7 separate regions of the Homo sapiens genome follow, and regions 1, 2, 3, 4, 6 and 7 are each linked to region 5. The links are contacts of gene promoters, found by promoter capture Hi-C in blood cells and fetal thymus (Javierre and others, 2016). All regions are on one chromosome and are shown on one strand. The core of a region is centred on a gene start or on the middle of the fragment in contact, and the rest is flanking DNA. Distances in the headings are between cores, read along the strand shown. Region 1 overlaps OASL (2'-5'-oligoadenylate synthetase like). Region 2 has its middle 36 kb from the start of P2RX7. Region 3 overlaps P2RX4 (purinergic receptor P2X 4). Region 4 overlaps LOC105378258 (a long non-coding RNA gene). Region 5 holds the start of UNC119B (unc-119 lipid binding chaperone B). Region 6 overlaps LOC105370030 (a long non-coding RNA gene). Region 7 holds the start of COX6A1 (cytochrome c oxidase subunit 6A1).

What was found. The method cuts DNA at HindIII sites, captures the fragments that hold promoters and counts their contacts. A CHiCAGO score of 5 or more calls a contact.
Region 1: a fragment that was not itself captured here is called in contact with the fragment with the promoter of UNC119B in region 5 in 9 of 17 cell types (endothelial precursors, M1 macrophages, naive B cells and 6 more); the score reaches 8.3 in endothelial precursors.
Region 2: a contact is called between a fragment that was not itself captured here and the fragment with the promoter of UNC119B in region 5, in 6 of 17 cell types (naive B cells, total B cells, total CD8 T cells and 3 more). The highest score is 10.4, in naive B cells.
Region 3: a fragment that was not itself captured here is called in contact with the fragment with the promoter of UNC119B in region 5 in 1 of 17 cell types (naive B cells); the score reaches 5.6 in naive B cells.
Region 4: a contact is called between a fragment that was not itself captured here and the fragment with the promoter of UNC119B in region 5, in 3 of 17 cell types (naive B cells, M1 macrophages and megakaryocytes). The highest score is 7.4, in naive B cells.
Region 6: a fragment that was not itself captured here is called in contact with the fragment with the promoter of UNC119B in region 5 in 3 of 17 cell types (endothelial precursors, M1 macrophages and naive B cells); the score reaches 7.1 in endothelial precursors.
Region 7: a contact is called between the fragment with the promoter of COX6A1 here and the fragment with the promoter of UNC119B in region 5, in 5 of 17 cell types (total CD8 T cells, naive CD4 T cells, naive CD8 T cells and 2 more). The highest score is 7.5, in total CD8 T cells.

What each region holds. Positions count from the first base shown.
Region 1 is chr12:121,016,892-121,019,839 of GRCh38, reverse strand. It overlaps OASL (2'-5'-oligoadenylate synthetase like), which reads left to right. Exons shown (of 6, transcript NM_003733.4): 6 at 1-729. Among named protein-coding and RNA genes, the nearest start is that of C12orf43, 1.9 kb to the right of the region's middle. The HindIII fragment of the contact is 612 bases long and covers 1,346-1,957 here.
Region 2 is chr12:121,094,884-121,097,956 of GRCh38, reverse strand. No RefSeq gene overlaps it. Among named protein-coding and RNA genes, the nearest start is that of P2RX7, 36 kb to the left of the region's middle. The HindIII fragment of the contact is 3,941 bases long and covers 1-3,073 here.
Region 3 is chr12:121,216,792-121,219,915 of GRCh38, reverse strand. P2RX4 (purinergic receptor P2X 4) reads right to left here. Exons shown (of 12, transcript NM_002560.3): 2 at 2,635-2,782. Among named protein-coding and RNA genes, the nearest start is that of P2RX4, 8.2 kb to the right of the region's middle. The HindIII fragment of the contact is 2,347 bases long and covers 503-2,849 here.
Region 4 is chr12:121,066,377-121,069,396 of GRCh38, reverse strand. It overlaps LOC105378258 (a long non-coding RNA gene), which reads left to right. Exons shown (of 4, transcript XR_007063492.1): 3 at 1-60. Among named protein-coding and RNA genes, the nearest start is that of OASL, 29 kb to the right of the region's middle. The HindIII fragment of the contact is 178 bases long and covers 1,432-1,609 here.
Region 5 is chr12:120,708,976-120,711,795 of GRCh38, reverse strand. It overlaps UNC119B (unc-119 lipid binding chaperone B), which reads right to left and starts at 1,338. Exons shown (of 5, transcript NM_001080533.3): 1 at 1,078-1,338. The coding sequence starts at 1,321. LOC124903036 (a long non-coding RNA gene) reads left to right here and starts at 1,290. Exons shown (of 2, transcript XR_007063491.1): 1 at 1,290-1,359; 2 at 1,522-1,863. RefSeq lists silencers at 1,029-1,298, 1,389-1,448 and an enhancer at 579-1,421. The HindIII fragment of the contact is 2,396 bases long and covers 345-2,740 here.
Region 6 is chr12:121,112,209-121,115,208 of GRCh38, reverse strand. All of the region lies in intron 1 of LOC105370030 (a long non-coding RNA gene), which reads right to left. Among named protein-coding and RNA genes, the nearest start is that of P2RX7, 19 kb to the left of the region's middle. The HindIII fragment of the contact is 2,011 bases long and covers 416-2,426 here.
Region 7 is chr12:120,436,863-120,439,870 of GRCh38, reverse strand. It overlaps COX6A1 (cytochrome c oxidase subunit 6A1), which reads right to left and starts at 1,758. Exons shown (of 3, transcript NM_004373.4): 1 at 1,642-1,758; 2 at 1,350-1,492. The coding sequence starts at 1,744. It also overlaps the pseudogene LOC124903126. RefSeq lists enhancers at 1,064-1,585, 1,512-1,721. The HindIII fragment of the contact is 8,043 bases long and covers 1-2,919 here.

The DNA.
Region 1 (2,948 bases), core at 402-2,901, 310 kb before region 5:
TGCACTTCCAGCTTCCCCATACCAACAGCCTCAATCACGGCATCCCTGAAGCCTTCCCATTTTCCTGCCTGTCTTTAAATCTCTGTCAAAAGCGAGAGATGGGTGGCTGGTTCCTTTGCTATAGCAAGTTGGGAATAAATCGCCTTTGTTAGTTCTCATTTGGGGGCTGTTTATTTCCACAGGGCCTAATGCTGTCCTAATGGTTATTGCTTGATCATTTGAGCTTCTCAACTCTAAGAAATGAGGACTGGGGAAACTGAGGCAAAAAGAGACAAAGAATGGGAGATTGAGGATGATGCAGTGTAAAAAAAAATCACCTCAACTCCTAAAACCCATACACAAACAGTACATAATAGTCAGGAAACTGTAGGAAAGTAATAGCATCTTTATTATCAAAGGACGTCATGTGATCAGGTTTACTCCAAGCAATAAAAAGTTTCCTTTTGCCCCCCTGTTTTGCCTAGTTTTCTGGTGGGCTACTCTCCTACCATAGCATAGAAAATGCACACTGCAATTGGTTATCAACAGCCTCTGGTCAATTTAGCAATCATAATCTGTGTATCTCCCACCTCTGTTTGCCTTCAGGGACAGAAAAAGTGCCTCCTTTCCAGGAGGTAGACAGGCTGTTCCAGTCCCCATCTTTGTGTCCTTCATAATGCCCAGCACAGCCCACATTGTAGGTGGTGGGAAAATTCTTGTTTAAAATAAAAAAAAGAATGAAAAATGCAATGTCTTAGTCCATCTGGGCTGCTAAAACAAAATACCATACACTGGATGGCTCATGAACAATAACCATTTATTTCTTACAGCTCTGGAGGCTGGGAAGTCCAAGTCAAGACACTGGCAGATTTGGTGTCTGGTGAGGACCTCTTCCTGATTCACAGATGGCAGCTTCTCACTAAGTCTTCACATGGTAGAAGAGGCAAAGGTGTCTCTAGGATCGCTTCTTTTTTTTTTTTTTTTTTTTTTTGAGATGGAGTCTCGCTCTGTCACCCAGGCTAGAGTGCATTGGCATGATCTCAGCTCCCTGCAACCTCTGCCTCCGAGGTTCAAGCGATTCTCCTGCCTCAGCCTCCCGAGTAGCTGGGACTACAGGCACCTACCACTGTGCCCAGCTAATTTTTTTTTTATTTTTAGTAGAGACGGGGTTTCACCATCTTGGCCAGGCTAGTCTCGAACTCCTGACCTTGTGATCCACCTGTCTTGGCCTCCCACAGTGCTGGGATTACAGTTGTGAGCCACCATGCCTGGCCTCTGGGGTCTCTTTTATGAAGGCATTGATCCAGTTCATGAGGGCTCAGGACCCATTATGTAATTGAAAGATTCTCCGTGGGGCCTGAAAGCTTAAGAGAATGAATGACCCCTCCCTCCCCTCCCTCCTTGGGCCCGGTCCCAAGGCGCAAGGCCACTCGCGCCAGCAGCATGTGTCAGCAAGATAGCAGAAGCGGGAAGAGAGCGGGCCAGAAGACACCTACCCCCTGAAGACCGAGAGAGACGTCATCCGGGTACAATGTAGCGGTTACAACAGACTGAGAAACTTCCTGTTTACAGGAGACTACAAAACCCCTGCCCCGTCCTCATTTGGTGCTGACGCCATTTTAAGCCTCAGCCCACCTGCACACACACTGCCTCATGTTGTCTGTTGGCCACGCTCTTGGGGTTCGAACCAACACAAGACCCTTTCACTAATTACTTCCCAGAGGTCCCACCTCCTAATACCATCACCTTGGGAGTAAGGACTTTTTGGAAATTATCAGTATCAAAATGGAGTCACTTATGTCAAACCCTAACAAATGCCTGTCACAAAAATTATCTCAAGAAGTTCCTAAAATCCGCAGTATTATAGATAAACCACTTGCATAAGAATATTTGCCTAACAGTGGGTGTCTCCACAATAAGCTAAAGCCAACTCCTGCAACAGGCTCCTGTGATCAACGGTACTTGTTTTAAAGAAGCTTATGTGGACTTTGTCTTTTCTCGTTGCCACAACCTCTTTTAATGTGCCTATAGTCCACTATAGCATGCATATCTCAAATTGCAATTCCTTGCAATTCTGGAATAAACGCTTTATTTTGGAGAGTCAGTCTCTCTGTTATTTATTTTATGGTGTCAATTTTAACATATGAATTTTGGAGGAACACATTCAGACCATATCAGTCACCTTCCTCTTCTTTGAAATAGAAAAAGCTCAAGGCCAGAGAGTTTATTTTAGTAAAGTTTTGACATACCTGTCTTCAAAGATAAAACATGAAACAGCATTCCACACACAAAAGTAAAGTGATTTTGTTCATCCTTCACTGTGAGGTATTTTAACCACAGAGATTCTAATTTTTTGGTCTTGGATGGGTCCTGGGAGTCAGTATTGCCTGGCTAATTTTTGTATTTTTAGTAGAGATGGGGTTTCACCATGTTGGTCAGGCTAGTCTCGAACTCCTGACCTCATGATCTGCCCGCCTCGGCCTCACAAAGTGTTGGGATTACAGATGTGAGCCACCGTGCCCGGACAGGATTCTGCATTTCTCTTTTTTTTTTTTCGAGACAGAGTCTCAGTCTGTTGCCCAGGCTGGAGTGCAGTGGCACGATCTTGGCTCACCTCAACCTCCACCTCCCAGGTTCAAGTGATTTTCCTGCCTCAGCCTCCTGAGTAGCTGGGACTACAGGTGCGTGCCACCATGCCCAGCTAATTTTTGTATTTTTAGTAGAGATGGGGTTTCACTATGTTGGCCAGGCTGGTCTCGAACTCCTGACCTTGTGATCTGCCTGCCTCAGCCCCCCAAAGTGTTGGGATTACAGGCGTGAGCCACCGTGCCCAGCCTGGATTCTGCATTTCTAACGAGCTCCCAGGTGTTACCAATGCTGCTGGCTCATGGACTACACTCTTAAGTAGTAAGGCCCTAGGCTATTAAAGGAAATACAGATTCCTGGATTCCACCTATCAGAGATTCTGA
Region 2 (3,073 bases), core at 493-2,992, 390 kb before region 5:
GAAGAGTGAGAATGAAAAAACCAGCACATGTGGGGGAAGGCTGGGGAAGGGATTTGATTATATATTTAAGTGACTGAATTCAGTTCTCTCTCATTTCCTGGACAATAGTTCTGTTTTTTTCAGATTATTCTGATCATTTCAAATTAAAGCGAAGACACATGATCAGTTCTCAAGTCCTATGTTCTCATTAGGAAAAATAGAAAAACATGCAACTCTAGCTGAATATGGTGGAAAATATTTTGTTAGAGGTCCTTTCATAGGGCCTTTGTCCAGATGTTTGGACCGAGGCCCCCGAGGGCATGGAGAGCCAGCCTGAAGGACAGCGTAGGGTGTGCCTGCAGGGAAGGTCGTAGCTCACCAGTGACAGAAGAGGCAGACTCCCCTTCTTCCAGGCCTTGGTCTTCTACATCCTAGCTCAGTGGTCATTTATTTGTCAGGCCCTTCATTTTACTGATTTAATAACGTGTTTAAGGCAGGGTGCGGTGGCTCACGCCTGTAATCCCAGCACTTTGGGAGGCCGAGGTGGGTGGATCATCTGAGGTCAGGAGTTCGAGACCAGCCTGACCAACATGGAGAAACCCATCTCTACTAAAAAAAAAAAAAAAAAAAAAAAATACCCCGACGTGGTGGCGCATGCCTGTAATCCCAGCTACTTGGGAGGCTGAGGCAAGAGAATAACTTGAACCCATGAGGTGGAGGTTGCAGTGAGCTGAGATCATGCCATTGCACTCGAGCCTGGGCAACAAGAGTGAAATTCCGACTCAATAATAATAATAATAATAATAATAATAATAACAACAATAATAATAATGTGTTTAAATAATTTATCTCATATCTCTGCACCTTCACTCCATTTCTTTTCAAAGAAACAGAGAAAAACAAAAACAAAATGTCATAGTTCTGGGCCGGGCACGGTGGCTCACACCTGTAATCCCAGCACTTCGGAAGGCTGAGGTGGGTGGGTCATTTGAGGTCAGGAGTTTGAGACCAGCCTGGCCAACACGGTGAAACTCCACCTCTACTAAAAATGCAAAAATTAGCCGTGCGTGGTGGTGGGCATCTGTAGTTCCAGCTGCTTGGGAGGCTGAGGCAGGAGAATCGCTGAGGGAGCCCGGGAGGTGGAGGTTGCAGTGAGCTGAGATTGTGCCACTGCACTCCAGCCTGGGCAACAGAGCAAGACTCTGTCTAAAAAAAAAAAAATAAAAGTCACAGTTCTACTTGACCCAGCAGCAGGCTTTAAAACCAGAGGCTTTAATTCTCCCAATTTCCTCATTTGTCAAAATGCAGAAGCCAATCTAAGTAAATCACCTAGAACGGCAGCAAGCTACGTAAGTTCGGGGCTGAAATGTGATATTTCTTCTGAATCTCTCTTTTCTTACAACATCAGAGAAATGGGTAATAAATAGCACCAAACCCAGGGGCTCCACATTTATTCCTCTTTCCGGAGGAAATAAATTCTAGCCACCATATTTCTCAATAGGAACCGATATGTAAGGAGAATGAATTTATTCATTCATGAGTCATGTATTCAATCCTGATAAAAATACTTTATTCTGGTCTTCAATAGCAAATATGACCGGAGAGCCAGAGGGTCAGTGGTCCTGCTCTGAGCTGTGCAGGTGGGGCTGTCTCTGGGTAGTGGGAGGGTCGGGTGGGTGTTTCTGACCTGGGCGTCTTTGCCCAGAGGAGCAGAAGTGAACACACGCCCTCCCACTGGGCTCTTCTGCTGACGTGGGTTGGTAGGACGGTTATGGCTCAGCTTAGGGTCCGCAGCTGGGCAATGAGGAGACTGGAGGGGCCTTTCTCAGGTAGTGGCGTCTGGTAATCAGCAGATGGCGCCCGAGGTCGCTGGGCCCGCCCCGCGTGCGGGTCTTTCTGGTTGACTCCCCAGGCTCTTGCGTGGGAACTCACCACTGAGCACTGAACGCAGTTCCTCAGTCCGAGACCTCCTCACTCTCGCAGGACGCACAGTTGCACACACAAGTCCCTCACCTGTCACGACCCACGCTCTTACATACTCTCCCACTCCCACCCACACCCCCTCTCTCAGATGTGTGATCCAGGATTTCCTCTCCACCCACAGCCGCAGACGCCCCCACGGTTCGTGCAAATGTGCACACTCGGTGCAGCAGATCCCCGCCTCCTGCACACGTGCGCGTTTTTCCAGCCTCGCACTTTATCTCACACGTTTTCTCACCCAGAGACCCCATTTCAGACACACACACCCTCTCAGCCTTTTCTCTTGCCTCCCAACCCCTTAAAACGGAAATCCTTTATTTCCTCCGGAATTTGCTCACTTCGTGAAATGCCGGTCTGTCTTCTGGCGGATCCTATAGGGCAGCCCTTTCCTGCCCCTTGGTTCCAACAGCCCCTTTCATGCCAGTTTTTGTCACGTGCCTCTTACCATGCTGAAGTGAAATTGACCCAGCCATCACACAATGCCCTAACTCAGGGGTCTGCAAACAATGGCCCCAGAAAGCTGTTTGTTTTCCCCCAGCTTTATCTGAATATGCTTGAAAAGTAAACATTGTATATATTTAAAGTGGGCAACCGGATATTTAATACACATTGTGAAATGATCACCGCAAACTAAAACACCCACCATCTTACATTGTTACCACTTTCTTTCTTTTTTGGAGGTGGGGTGGTTAAGGATCTTAAGATCTACTCTCTTAAGAAATTTCAGGTATACAACAGAGTGTTGTTACACGCTGTACGTTACATCTCCAGAACTTACTCATCTTGTATAACTGACACTTTATACCCATTAAACAACACCCCGTTTTCTCCAACCCTCAGTCCCTGGCAACGACTATTCTACTCTACTCTCTGCTTCTATGAGTTTGGTTAGTTTAGATTCCACATATAAGTGAGATCATGCAGTATTTATTTATTTATTTATTTATTTATTTTTCTTGATGTGGAGTCTCGCTCTGTCGCCCAGGCTGGAGTGCAGTGGTGCCATCTTGGCTCACTGCGACCTCTGCCTCCTGGGTTCAAGCGATTCTGCCTCAGCCTCCCGAGTAGCTGGGACTACAGGCGTGCACCACCACAATCTATTTTTGTATCTTTA
Region 3 (3,124 bases), core at 427-2,926, 510 kb before region 5:
TCTCATTGGGGGCTGGTGTCCATCCATCTAATCTAATCTATCTATTATCTGTCTATCTATCTATCTATCTATCTATCTATCTATCTAATCTATCCTATATCTATCATCTGTTTTCTATTTATCGATTATCTATCACCTATCTAATCTATCCTATCATCTGTCATCTATCCTATCCCTTTTCTTTCTTTTCTCTTCTCTTTTCTTTCTTTCCCTTTCTTTCTCCTATCCTATCATTTATCTATTCTTTCTTTCTTTCCATCTATCTATCTATCTATCTATCTATCTATCTATCTATCTATCCATCCATCCATCCATCCATCCATCCATCCATCCATCCACCACCCATCCAATCAAGATGGGGTCTCACTATATTGCCCAGGCTGGTCTTGAATCCTGAGCTCAAGTGATCCTCCTGCCTTGGCCTCCAAAAGTGCTGGGACTACAGGCGTAAGCCACTGCGCCTGGCTGGGCCCAGGCATTTTAAAAGGAGATGCCCAAAGCTTTTAGCATTTCACACTCCTGAGGATAACAGTCAGTAGTGGGAGCCATCTTGGGGATCAGGGCAACTCAGAAACCAACCAGTCTGTAGACATCCCCAACCCCACGGTCTGACAAGTGGTGGAAGCTCTAGAAATAGCTGGCGTCCTCCAAAGGCCTAGGGCAAACTATGTTGGGAGACAAGGAGAAGGCCACAGGAGGAGGCGTGAGGATGTGGCATGAGCTGCAGCCTCTCTCCCGCCACCTGTCACGTTCCCAGGTGTTCAATGTACAAACACACTCTGCATTTGGTGTTAGAGAAGGCCGCTCCTACGACTCTCCTGAGTTATACTTGGAACAATCCAGTATGGTCTACTTTTCGTTTCCTATCTCTCCTTCTTTCTCTCTCTTTTAGAGTTGGGGTCTTGCTCTGTTGCCCTAGCTGGAGTGCAGTGGCGTGATCACAGTTCACTTCAGCCTCAAACTCCTGGGCTCAAGTGATCCTTCTGCCTCGGCCTCCAAAAGTGTTGAGATTACAGGCATGAACCACCACATCTGGCCTGTTTCCTATCACTTATCTACTTCAAATTAAGGGTAATTTCAGTCTGGAGATGAGCCAAGGGGCTGCAAATAGATGACTGTGTTCCATCTACAAAGAACACAGACGTCGTGAAAGCTCATGAGGAAAGCCCTGGGGAACTCACACGGCCCCCGCCCAGATCCACCACGGAAGGCTGAGTTGTGGGGTGCTCCTTTCCACCAAGGGACAAAAGCGGGGCTTGTGCCCTTCCTCATCTGCCCAGTAAACACACCGAGCATGACATTCCCAGAGCTCACCGGGACAAGGCTATGCCTGCACAGGAGGCAACCGTCTCTCTGCTGAGACAGGTACATGCTAACAGGACTGCCCCCTCCAGCCAACTGCAAATCCCCTGTTCCACTTGATCTTTTTTTTTGAGACGGAGTCTTGCTCTGTCACCAGGCTGGAGTGCAGTGGCACTATCTCGGCTCACTACAACCTCCGCCTCCCAGGTTCAAGAGATTCTCCTGCCTCAGCCTCCCTAGTAGCTGGGACTACAGGCACCCACCACCACACCCCACTAATTTTTGTATTTTTAGTAGACAGGGTTTCACCATGTTAGCCAGGATGGTCTCAATCTCTTGACCTCATGATACACCGACCTCGGCCTCCCAAAGTGCTGGGATTACAGGCATGAGCCACCGCACCTGGCCCTTCCTCCTGACTTTTATGGCTCATTAGCTCGGTCTCCTCTCTGGGGACCCCACAAGACCCTTCTCTTGAGAAGGCAGGGGGAAGAACACACCTGAAGAAAGAGTTTCTGGAGTTCTTGTTTTCCCTGGCAAGAGCTCTGAGCCAAGAGTTGGCAGCTTATCTCTACTGGTCGCCCTCGGTCCCTTAGCACATAGGCCATCTGGAGGGCTATGTCGGGTTTGACTGTGTGGTGCAGAGCTGTTACCAGGACTAAAGAGTCAATGTTTAACTTGGAGCTTTGCAGATTAACAGCCTGAAGACTAGTATGCAGCAGTAAACAATGTCTTCCCTTCCTTTCGCTCCCGATGGAGTCCTGTGCTGCTGTCTCTGTTTCCTTCTTGTTTGGGTTTTGGTCTCTAATGGTCTCTAATTCTTTTCTTTTTTTTTCTTTTTTTTTTTTTTTATAGAGATGGGGTTTCACCACATTGCCCAGGCTGGTCTCAAACTCCTGGGCTCAAGGTATCTGCCCGCCCCAGCCTCCCAAAGTGCTGGGATTACACACGTGAGCTACTGTGCCCGGCCTAAAGTTTTTACACTGTCTGAAAAGATTTACCTCGTGTATTTGGGACAATAATGCAAACCCAAAATGTGGAAAGGTGATATTTCCACTTGAATTTCTATCAGGATTTAAGACATTTGTTTTCTCATCTTTCAGGGCTTTCAGCCTGCCATGCTTTCAAGCTGAGGAACCACAGCTGCCTGGATACACTCTGTTAGATCCTAAGCTGAAAAGAGATCTGGCTGCACCGTTTTCTTGGACTAAAACAATCATTCTGGGCATTGGTGATGTCAGGACTCAGGCCACGTCAATCATTAATCAAGTGTGCAAAGTCAGTAAAGAGCAAGGTGTCAGTGTTAGACAGAAGACACAGTGGGAGACACACCTGAGCTGGTATCACATAATCCGCCACATCCCAGATCCGGAATCCAAGTTTAGAAGTGTTGGTCACAGCCACGCCCTTGACCTTGGTCGTAACGGAGCTGACCACGGAGTCAGTTTCCTGGTAGCCCTTTTCCCACACAAACACCCACCTATAAAATAAAACAGGCCTCTTAAATTGCCATTAGGATTCAATGGATTTGAATTGATGGGGAAGCTTCTGCTGGCCAGTGGCTGGAAGTACGATGTTGACTAATTACATGACTTTCTACAAGCTACGTACCTTCTAGGGGACTCCATTTCCACTTCTGCCAAATGGGGATGGTAGCACCTAAACCACAGGAGGGTTTGCGGGAAATAAATGAGATGGTGCAGGTAAAGCACTCAGCACACTGATGGCACAGAGAAAACGCTCGATGAATACTGTCTTTATTACATTTGAGCATTTTCTCTTTTTTTTTTTTTGAGACGATGTTTCGCTCTTGTTGCCTAAG
Region 4 (3,020 bases), core at 271-2,770, 360 kb before region 5:
TGCACCGTGCCGGCCAGATTTTGGTATTTCTTATGGGAAACCTGAGTTCCTGCATTAGAGGTATGTTCACACTGGCCTGTTGAATGCTGTCCTCTTAAATGTATTTAAAAATTATCCTCTGTATTTTTCGTATGCGGTTATAAATGTGTTTTGGGGATCTATTTTATTCCTTAATTTATATATTTGATTCTAGCGTCAAGCAGGTTCCCTTTGAATTTTTCCTTTAAAGAACATGTGCTATTTCCTATTACATCCTGTACCCCTCAAACTGCCCAATTAGGTATACTCCTGGGGAAAATATGGCAAAGTTTGTTGTAATGCAGTTTTTTTACCTAATTAAGTAGCTACTAAAATAATTAATTTCAAAAATTTGGAGCAAACCTAGAAAGATGCAGATGTCTTTGTGGCTTTTCACGCAATCAAGTTTACCTATCTTTGCTTTTAATATGTATTTCCTCTTGATGAAATGTTTATTTAGTTTAGTAAACTTGGGATATGTCATTTATATCCATAAATCAACTTTTTAAAAAAGAGATAATAAGAATGTGTATTGTCTATGTGTTCGTGTGTAAAACAAGATCCACTTTTATTTTTTATTATTTATTTTATGATTTGAGTTTATTTTATAAATGAGTTTATGCAGAATCATAGAGGTATCAACTACAGTCAATCACCCAACCTACTTACCTTTCCAAAGGTAAATATACTCAAGTACAATCATTTTTTTCTCATCCAAAGAGTAGCCCATATTGAATAAAGATAGGGACATGAAATGAATCGGTAGACACTATTAACCAAGAATATACAGATTTATTCACACCAAGAAACAAGTAAGTCATATGGATATATATATAAAGATAAATTTAAAAATAATAAGGTGATAATTGTACAAGTTTGCATATAGAGCTGCAGCTCTGAAAAACTGTTTATATTGTTTTGATATATTGTGTGACTTGTTCCCCTAACCCATCACCCGGAGTTGATGCTAAGATACTGTTGGTTCCATGACTCGGAAGCAATCTAAGGTTAGAGGCACTTACATTTGCTAGGAATAAATAAGGCAAGATGATATTTTTCACCACTTTTAGCACAGCAGACTTGTCAGTAGATAAGCGGCTCCACCCAGGACACTGGTATTCATCTCATTCGCACAGCTCATCTGTTGACCATGACTCAAGCAACTGGACCACTCTGGAGGACCATAGTGCCCTTTAAAAAATTTTTTTTTGTATTTTTAGTAGTGACAGGGTTTCCCCATATTAACCAGGCTGGTCTCGAACTCTTGACCTCAGGTGATCCACCTGCCTTGGCATCCCAAAGTGCTGGGATTACAGGCATAAGCCACCGTGCCAGGCCTCCTAATGTGCCCTTTTATGTGGAGTGGCCATTGAGTGTGCACTCAGCCAGACACAGACAGCATTTTTGAAAGCTTTATCTGAGTATTTCAAAATTGAGTATGAATTTGGATAAAGTGGTTGGTTGTAGACCAAGCAGGAAGATGTCATAGAAAGAACAATGGCTTGGGAGTTCGGAATCCCGGGCTTGCATGAATCTTTGAGCTTGTTAAGTCGTGCAATCTAAAGCAAGGCATTTCACTGATAATTAAGCTTCATGAGCATTTGCACTGATAACATTATACACATTGAACAATTCAGAAGTCACCACATACGTATGGCGTGGCTTACTCTCACCTTTCACCGGTTGGAGAAAAAGAGACAGAGATGAATGTGATCAAGTTTATGAGCTCCTAAGTAAAAGAGCCAAGATGGGAACCCAAGCATGTGGCTCCAGCGCCGAGGCTCTGAGCAACGGATGCACCATCATCACTCAGCTGTGGGACCACCAGTCACTGTGCAAAAGAGTTCCATCATCTGTATGTATTGACACGTCTGGAATTATCTGAGCCTATAGAGTTCCTACACACTATCCACAATATATGCTGGTGTCAGTGGGCACATAGCCCAGCACAGGTATTAGTGCATAAATACCACAGGTTTATCATAGTCATTATGTGAAACCCACTTAGAAAGCCCAAATGCTTTCGGACAGCTCGTAGATTTTGAGAGCTCGGGGACACCACTTGGGACAGCCAGTAAAATTCTTTCAGTGCTTGGCCGCTCCTCAGCACCTGTCCCAAACTGATAAATAACGAGAAGACTCTTTTTTCCAAACGGAGTTTGGCTCTTGTTGCCCAGGCTGGAGTGCAATGGCACCACTTCGGCTCACTGCAACCTCCATCTCCCGGGTTCAAGCCATTCTCCTGCCTCAGCCTCCTAAGTAGCTCAGATTACAGGTGCATGCCACCACGCCCAGCTAATTTTTTGTATATTTAGTAGAGAAGGGGTTTCACTGTGTCGGCCAGGCTGGTCTCAAACTCCTGACCTCAGGTGATCCACCTACCTCGGCCTCCCAAAGTGCTGGGATTATAGGCGTCAGCCACCGCGCCCAACCAGTACCTATTTTCTTTGAAACATAACAACTCTCTCATCTTCATCCTAAAATGTTCAAAGCATATTAAAGGGCAAAAACCACAGTATGAAGAGACAGAGCATGCATCAGAGCCAGACTGCAATATACAGAGATTTGATGATTATCAGACTGATAACTATGATTAATATGCTAAAGGCTCTAATGGAAAAAGTGGATGAGATTCAAGAACCAATGGGATGTAAGTAGAGAAGTGAAAACTCTAAGAATCAAAAGGGAATGCTAGAAATAAAAAATGCCGTAACAGAAACGGAGAAGGCCTTTGATGGACCCGTCAGTGGACTGCACGTGGTTGATGAAGAAATCCGTGAACCTGAGAAAATGTCAATAGAACTTCCCAAACTGAAAAGCAAGAGAAAAAAAGACTGAGGAAAACAGAAAAAAATATCAAAAAATGGCGGGACAATTACAAAAGGTATAACATCTTCGTAAAGGGAATTCTAAAAGGAGAAAAATGAAAGAAGCAGAAGAAATATTTTAACTAATAATGGCTGATAACTCACCAAAATTATTGACAGACACCAAGCCATAGA
Region 5 (2,820 bases), core at 89-2,588:
AATTTCCATCCCCAAATTACTAGAGCTGCAATCGGCAACCTGAGGTGCACCTGAACAGCCCTGGGCTGCCTGCTATAGCAGCTCAGCAGACACCATGGCAGCCTTCGATCCATCCAGGGAATGTTGCTGCTGCCACAGGGTTAGGAGACTGCACGCCAGGAGTGATGGGCAGGCCAAGATAGGCCTAACTAGGTGAGTGCACACTCCTGCAGGGAAAACAGCAGCAAGAGAAAAGACGTCAAGTCAGGGACTGGCTTGGCAGAGAACAGAAAAAGGGAGATCACCCAGGGCAGGGACTGGGCAACATTTTTCTTCCCACCCATCCTCCTATCAACGAAAAAGCTTAGGATGGTTGCCTTTTGTGCAGGAAACGCATTTCTGAAACTCTGAAATCATTCTTAATTCACGAGAATGTCAAAAGCAGGATTCACATGTCGGAGTCTGTACACAAACTGAAACTTTATTTTTGTTTTAATGTGGCACAGTTTTAAATGAGCAGGAAATGCCACGGCTATGTGTTTTGAGGAAGAACCCATCTGCACACTAAGGGGCAACGCTCCCGACCCAAAGAGGGAGGGAGGCCGGGCAGGCTGCAATGGGGGAGGGCTGCCATGGGGCCAGGGCGGAGGAAGCAGGTAAGGCTTCTGGCCTGCCAGAGGGCTGGGGGAGCCTGGCTGAGCGGGAACTTCACTGATGGCCGGGGGTTCCAGGCTGAGGGCCCAGGGGCCCATTTATTAGGGGACCTCGGCCCCCGGCCGGCTCAGGAGGATCCAGTTCAGCTGAACGGGGCCCTCTACCCAAACAGGTCCGGCAGAGCTGGGGAGCCGACCGGCCGAAGGGCATCCTAGCGTGGCCGGACTCACAGGAATGCGGTCCAGCCCAGGAGAGTCCTTCCCCACCAGAGCTACGTGAGCGTGGCGGGAGCAAAGCCCGGCCGGCGGGGCAGCGGGAAGCGCGGCCCGGCCGGCCGAGGGGGTCTGGCGGGGACCCCCGCGCTGGTCAAGTGGCCGGGTCCGCTGAAGGCTCCGGGAGCCGGGGCACGGCGCGAGGGGAGGGCGCGGCCCGCGCGGCACTCACTCTCGGTGACCCGGCTGAGGCGCAGGACGTGCTCGGGCCGGATGGTGTCCAGCGCCAGCAGCTCCTGCTCCGTGACCGCTGCCCCGACGCCGTCGTCGGCCGCGTGGTGGGGCGCCTGCCGCCGCGCCTTCAGGCGGTTCAGGACGCCGCCGCCCGCCTTCTTCTTCTCCTCCTTGCCAGCCACCAGCCCCCCGGGCCCAGCCGCCGACGCCGCGGCCGCAGCCTTCGGGTTAGACCCGCTCATCGCTCCGCCGCCAAGATGGCCGCCGCCTCCACAGCGCGGTAACTATGGAGAGCGGGGGCGGGGCCCGGGGCCCGGCGGGGAAGGGGCGGGGAGGGGGCGGGGCGGGGGCGGGGGCGGGCGCCCGGGGGGCTGTGGAATTCCCTTTCGCACAGGGTGGACCAAGGCCCACTCTCCCCAAACTTCCATCCCCAAATAACTAGAGCTGCCATCAGCAACCTGAGGTGCACATGAGCAGCCCTGGGCTGACTCCTATAGCAATTCAGCGGACGACACCATGGCAGCCTTCGATCCATTCAGGGAATGCTGCTGCTGCCACAGGGTTAGGAGACCGCAGGCCAGGAGTGATGGGCAGGCCAAGATAGGCCTAACTGGGTGACTGCACACTCCTGCGGGGCCCGGGGGGCGGTGCTTCGGCTACTGCCCCAACTTTGGTCCTGCCAGGTGGAGGGCCTAGGGGTGGCTGGAGCTTCAGCAACCCCACTCCCCATCAGACCCCCAAGATCCTCCACGATGTTTAAATACATATCTTACGGTCAAATGAATTTACGTCATATAAACTTTCCTCCTCCTCATCCTCCTCCTGGTCTGAAAGAGCACACAGAATCTTCCGTGCACCATCTCGGCATTCTCAATCCAAGAGTTCTGTCACCAGTCCCAACAGCACAATGGCAACTAATTCCCAGTAATCACACCAAGAAGAAGAATGGCCAGTGTTTACTGCGCACTTGCTATATGGCAGGACACTTGCTATAGGGCAGGCTCCTCACCTCACAACAACCCTGTGAGGTATTACTGTCTCCATTTTACAGATCAGGAAGCTCAAGTTCAGAGAAGTCAGGTAACATGTCCAAAGTCCCTCAAGCAGTAAGAGGAGGGAACAGGGATTTTAATCCAGGTCCATCTGACCCAAGGCCTGTTCTTCAACACTAAGCTATTAGTGGACAATGCATCTTGAGAAAATGTTTATTAATATATTTAGCATAGAAGGTAAGTTAAAGCAGTGTTTGTTTTGCAAAGGCAGTTTCAAGACAAACTTTCCAATGAGATTGCCATCCGTAAGCCCTACTGTGCCAGGCCCTGGGCTAGACATTGGGCTAGGCTACAGGAGATGTAAGAGTGAGGGCAGGGATTGGGTCTGCCTCACCCCTGAATTCCCAGCAGTTCAGCTAATGCCTGACACGTGGTAGGTGCTCAGTAATGATTGAATGAGAGCCTGAACAGTATCCCACTATGGAAGAGCTCCCACTTTTGTTAGAGAAGACTGTAAAGTACACAATTCATTATGTGACCCTTCCTTTTCACAAGGTAGGTTAGTATGAACTGGAAGACAAACTAGATTCACTGACTGCACTAAGAGATGCAGCAAAGGTGCTAGGAGAACACACAGGAGTGGTTTATTCTGACCTGGCTGTAAAAGCTTGAGGGCTTCGGAAGTTTTCAGAGGCAATATCTGCACTGAGCTTTGGAAGTTAGCCATGACCTCACCAATTAGCCAGAAG
Region 6 (3,000 bases), core at 172-2,671, 400 kb before region 5:
ACAAATGTTAGCTGTAATTATGCTTTTGCTTTCCAATTTAACTAGCCAGGTAGGTAGGTAAGTAGGGGGAGAGAGAGAGGGAGAGAAGGAGGAAACAGCAAAAATAAAAGCATTTTTTTCTCTGATAATTTGAGGAAAATATACTTGTCTAGACCAGTGGTTCTCAACTAGGGATGACTGTGTGCCCCAGGGACGTTTGGCAATGTCTGGAGACATCTTAGTTGTCACGACTGAGGGAGTGCTACTGGCATCTGCAGCCAGGGGTGCTGCTAATCTATAGGACAACCCCTGTGACAAAGAAATACCTGGTTCCAATGTGCACAGTAGCCAGGCATGGTGGCTCACACCTGTAATCCCAGCACTTTAGGAGGCTGAGACAGGAGGATAGCTTGAGCTCAGGAGTTCAAGACAAGCTTAAGCAATACAGGGAGACCCTATCTCTACAAAAAATACAAAAAAATTAGCCAGGCATGGTGGCGTGTGCCTGTAATCGCAGCTACTTAAGAGGCTGAGGTGGGAGGATTGCTTCAGCCCAGGAGGTTGAGGCTGCAGTGAGCTGTGATTGTGCCACTGTACTCCAGCCTGGGCCACAGAGTGAAACCCTGTCTCAAAAACAGCAACAACAACAACAAAAAACAAAAGTGTCCCCAGTGCCTAGGCTGAGGAATCCTGGTCTATCATACATTGACATCTCTGATATTAAGGGCCACAGTGCAAGGTACAGTGTCTGGCACATAGTAGGTGCTCAATGAATGTTTGACAACCACATGAATGAATGAATCAATCAATCACAGAATGGATGAATCATCGAATGAATGAATGATTATATAGTTCATTTGTCATTTGGCTGAGTGCCTGGGACAGGGCTGCATCCGAGCAGCTGTTCATTAAATAGGTATGGACAGGTTCCTGTAAATGTTCCCTTCTGAAGCAGCTGGGGAGTGAGGTCCTGGCGGGGGAACACCCGGCCTCACAGCTGTGGTTCCAGGTCATGATAAATTGCTGTGGGAAGCCACAGAGCAGACAGCTCATCACACATTGTAATGGATTCATTGTCTTCTCTCGTGGCCCCCTTTATCTCAAACTCTCAGCAGACAAGGGTTAAAAGGGAGTGAGCTGAGTGAGGGCCTGTGGATGCTGCTCTTCAGGAAAAGGAGGGAAAATGAGCCCAGACAGGATCATCGTTAACCGGCTCCAAGGTCAAGAGCCGGGTTAGAACGTTAGAATTAGAGATGGGGGCAGGGATGGCGGCGGGACTCTCTCCATCACCACACCCTATCTAATTCATTTATTCAACAAATATTTATTGAGTACCAGAGACTCTTTGGGCATATGTGAGTTAACAAAACAGATGAAATCCTTACCCTGTTGGAATTTATATTTTAAAGAAGCAGGATGAACAATGGACACATAGGCCGGACATACCATGTGTGAGGGGCCCTGTGCATTAGGAGAAAAATCAGGTAGGGAGGGAAGATAAGGCATGTTTGGGGCTGAGTTTTTCCATTGAGGTGAAATTCAAATAACATGAAATTAATCATTTAAAAGTGAACAATTGGCCAGCGCGGTGGCTCAGGCCTGTGATCCCAGCACTTTGGGAGGCTGAGGCGGGAGGATTGCTTGATCCCAGGAGTTAGAGACCAACCTAGGCAACACGACAAGACTCCATCTCTGTTTTTTTTTAAGTGAACAATTGAGTGGCATTTAGTTCATTCACAGTGTTATGTAACCACTATTTCTGTCTAGTTCCAGAACATTCTCATCACCCCAAAAGGAAACCCCGTACCCATTTGGCCATTCCTCCTCCTCCAGCCCCTGGTAACCGTTGCTTTTCTTTCTCTGTGTGGGTTTGTCTGTTTTTGGATATTTCACATAAATGGCATCATACACTATGTGGCCTTTTGTGACTAGCTCCTTTCACAAGAATCTCACCTTGTTTTCAAGGTTCATTCATGTGGTAGCATGTGCCTTTCATTCTTTTTTATGGCTGAGTAAAATTGAATCACATGGATAGACCACATTTTGTTAATCCATTCGTCTGTTTAGGGACATCTGGGTTGTCTCCATCTTTGGCTACTGTGAATAGTGCTGTTGTGAACATTTAGGTTACAAGTATCTGTTTGAGGCCAGGCATGGTGGCTCACGCCAGCAGTCCTAGCACTTTGGGAGGCCGAGGCGGGTGGATCACTCGAGATCAGGAGTTCGAGACCAGCCTGGCCAACACGGTGAAACCCCATCTCTACTAAAAATAAAAAATAAAAATAAAAATGGTATCTGCTTGAGTCCCCATTTTCAATTCTTTGGGGTAAAAACCTAAAAGTGGAACTGCTGGGTATATGGTAATTCTATGTTTAACTTTTTTAGGAATGGCCAGTTTCCCACAGCAGCAGCACCATTTTACACTCCTATCAGTAATATACAAAGCTTCCAATTTCTTCATCTCCTCACCAATACTTGTTATTTTCCATTTTTAAAATAACAGTCATCCTAGTGATAGGAAGTCGTGTGTCCTGTGGTTTTGATCTGTGTTTCCCTAATACATATCATTACGTGGTGAGCATCTTTTCATGTGCCCATTGGCCGTGTATATATATCTTCTTAGATAGTCCTTTGCTCACTTTTGACGTTGGTCATTTGTCTTTTTGTTACTGAGTTAAAAGCATGGAGCTAACTTATTTTTATTTATTTTTATTTTTTTATGTTTTTTGAGACAGAGTCTCATTCTGTCGCCCAGGCTGGAGTGCAGTGGCGCAATCTCGGCTCACTGCAACCTCCGCCTCCCAGGTTCAAGTGATTCTCCTGCCTCAGCCTCTCAAAGTGCTAGGATTACAGGTGTGAGCCATGACGCCCAGCCTGAACTTTTAAATAGGGTGATCAGAAAAGACCTCCCTAAGATGATGACTTTTTTTTTTTTTTTTTTTTTAAGATGGAGTCTCACACTGTTGCCCAGGCTGGAGTGCAGTGGCGCGATCTCGGCTCACTGCAAGCTCCGCCTTCCGG
Region 7 (3,008 bases), core at 509-3,008, 270 kb after region 5:
TGGGGTTGCGCAGGTACTACTGCCACCTAGTGGGTACAGGCCAAGGATATGGCTAAACATTTCACAATGCACAAGATAGCCCCCCAACAAGAATTACCCAGCCCCAAATGTCAACAGTGCTGAGGCTGAGAAACCTTTACTGTTTGGCTTCTAATTGCATTGTACAAGGATGGGAGTGCCGCTCAAAGACTCAACAAATTCAAGAGTCTAGGTTAAGTTTCTACAAGGCCAGTCCTATATGGGCTAGGTGATGTAATAATAATAATAATAATAATAACTTTTTTCATCACTTCTCGGCCTTTTGGCTAAGATCAAGTATATTATTACTATTTTTTTTTGAGACGGAGTTTCACTCCTGTTGCCCAGGCTGCAGTGCAATGGCTGGATCTTGGCTCACTGCAACCTCCTCCTCCTGGGTTCAACCTCCTAGATTCTCCCACCGCAGCCTCCCGAGTAGCTGGGATTACAGGCGCCCGCCACCACGCCCGGCTACTTTTTGTACTTTTAGTAGAGATAGTGTTTCGCCATGTTGACGAGGCTGGTCTTGAACTCCTGACCTCCGGCGATCCACCCACCTTGGCCTCCCAAAGTGCTGGGATTACAGGCGTGAGCCACCGCGCATGGCCAGTATTGAAGAATCAGAATAAGCCCTTGTTAAAGATACAGCAAACAACAGAGGACACAACATTGTAATATATCTACATCAACAACCAATGATAAAACAGTCGAGAAAAGGTATTGGTGGGGAATAGAGAAAGCTGTCAGTCTCTTCATTATGCAACTAGTAGCTGCCAGATGCCCATGTTTTGTTGTTGCTGTTTTGTTTTGTTTTGAGACCAGAGTCTCGCTCTGTTGCCCAGGCCGGAGTGCAGTGGCACGATCTCAGCTCCCTGCAAACTCCGCCTCCTAGGTTCAAGGGATTCTCCTGCTTCAGCCTCCCATGTAGCTGCTGGGTTCGCTTACGCGAACCACCTTCAGACTTTGCCACTCTAATTGGATTTCCCAAACCTCCAGGCTTTACACAACGGACACCTGTTTCAGAACTGTCTCAGAAGTAAAAAAAAAAAAAAAAAAAAAAAAAAGAACTGTCTCAGAAGGCAGGAGGTAGGATGAATCGGAGAAAAGGGAAACTGAAGAGCACTTATTGTATGACCTTGAAGAAGAGAATTGAGACGTAATCCCAAGTGTCAGCTGTCCATCCACAAAATGGAAGAAAATACATTTTCTGTTTGTGAGGATAAACAAGCTGTACACGCCTGGCACCCATGCCTTCAGAGAATGAAGAACTTGCACTAAGGCACACATAACGAAAAGAGAACGGACGCTTGAAGAGATGTACAAGGGCGTACCTTGGTCCTGATGCGGAGATGGGGGTAGGCGATGAACTCGGGTCTCTCGTGCTCTCCGTGGTGCGACTTCAGGTACACATTCAGCATGCTGACTGCCACCCCGGGGAGCGCGACGAAGAAGGTGAGAGTCTTCCACATGCGAGCTGCGGAGAAGCCACAAACGTTCAGCGCCGGTATGGGGCGGGCCCGGGTCTCACTTTCCCTCCCGCAAGGCCTCGGGCCAAGGTCACAGTCCCTCCCTGTCTCGCCCGAGTGGGGCTGAGGCTCGACCCGTCGACCCCGGCCCCAGTACCTGAGCCCTCTTCGCCATGGGCGCCACTCGACATAGGCCGCCCCAGCTGTGGGCGGGACCGACCCAGCAGCCGAGAAACCGAGGACACACCAACTACCGCCATTTTTGATCTGGACTGCCGCAGCGCCGGAAGCGGAAGTGGAAAATTGGCTCTGGGGGCGGTACTACAACCTCCAAAGGAAGTTACTATTGGGCGCCGCCCTCCCACTGGCATTAACCTGAGCACTATCATCCGGGACGACGGAGTCCTTGTCAAAATCCTCGGCATCTCGGGCAAGAGAGAGCATGCGCTCTGCACCTCCCTTCAGGCTTTACCGTTTCCTTCGTGCGCATGCGTGTGCCCTCCGGTCTCCCTACCGTCCCCACCTGGGCGAGGCGGAAGCTCAAGAGAGGTTTGTGCAGGGTGCCCTGGTACCTGGAATCGCTCCCTTCGTTGGAGTCCATGGACGGGCATCTGGAGGTTCTGATCCCAGACCGCCCTATCTAAAATTCCGTTCCCCTTCCTCGCCATCCTCCGACTGCGTTTTCTCATAGCACATAACATTGCACCTTCGTCGTTATATTATTATTTTGTCTGTCTCCCCCACTAGAATATAAAGTCTGTGATACCAAGAGTTTGGCACTGCAGCATTCTCAGAATAATCTGGGAATGGTGTAATTTGGAATCATACCTGGCACATACCAGATACTTGATATAAATTTGCTGAATGAATGGATGAATGAATGAATAGCAACAGAAAGTATAAAGAGCACTGAAATTGGTGCCAGCAGACCTGGATCCTAATCCTGACTCAACAGTCTCATCTTTTTTTTTTTTTTTTTTTTTTTTTTTTTTGAGACGGAGTTTGACTCTTGTTGCTTAGGCTGGAGTGCAGCGGTGCAATCTTGGCTCACTGCAACCTCTGCATCCCAGGTTCAAGCAGTTCTACTGCCTCAGCCTCCTGAATAGCTGGGATTACAGGCACGCACCACCATGCCTGGCTAATTTTTTTTTTTGTACTTTGGTAGAGACAGGGTTTCACCATATTGGCCAGGATGGTCTCCATCTCCTGACCTTGTGATCCGCCTTCCTCGGCCTCCCAAAGTGCTGGGATTACAGGCGTGAGCCACTGTGCCCGGCCTTTTTTTTTTTTTTTTTTTTTTTTTTCAATAGGCCCCTTTGAGAATGTAATGAGGACCAGCGTGGTGGCTCATGGCTGTAATCCCAACACTTTGAGAGGCCGAGGCGGACAGATTGCTTGAGCTTGAGAGTTTGAGACCAGCCTGGGCAACAAAGCTTTTTTCTTTATTAGAAAAAAAAAGAATCTAATGAAAGCTTTGAACCCTTTCCTCTAAAGACACACCTATGTGTAAACACACAGTATAGC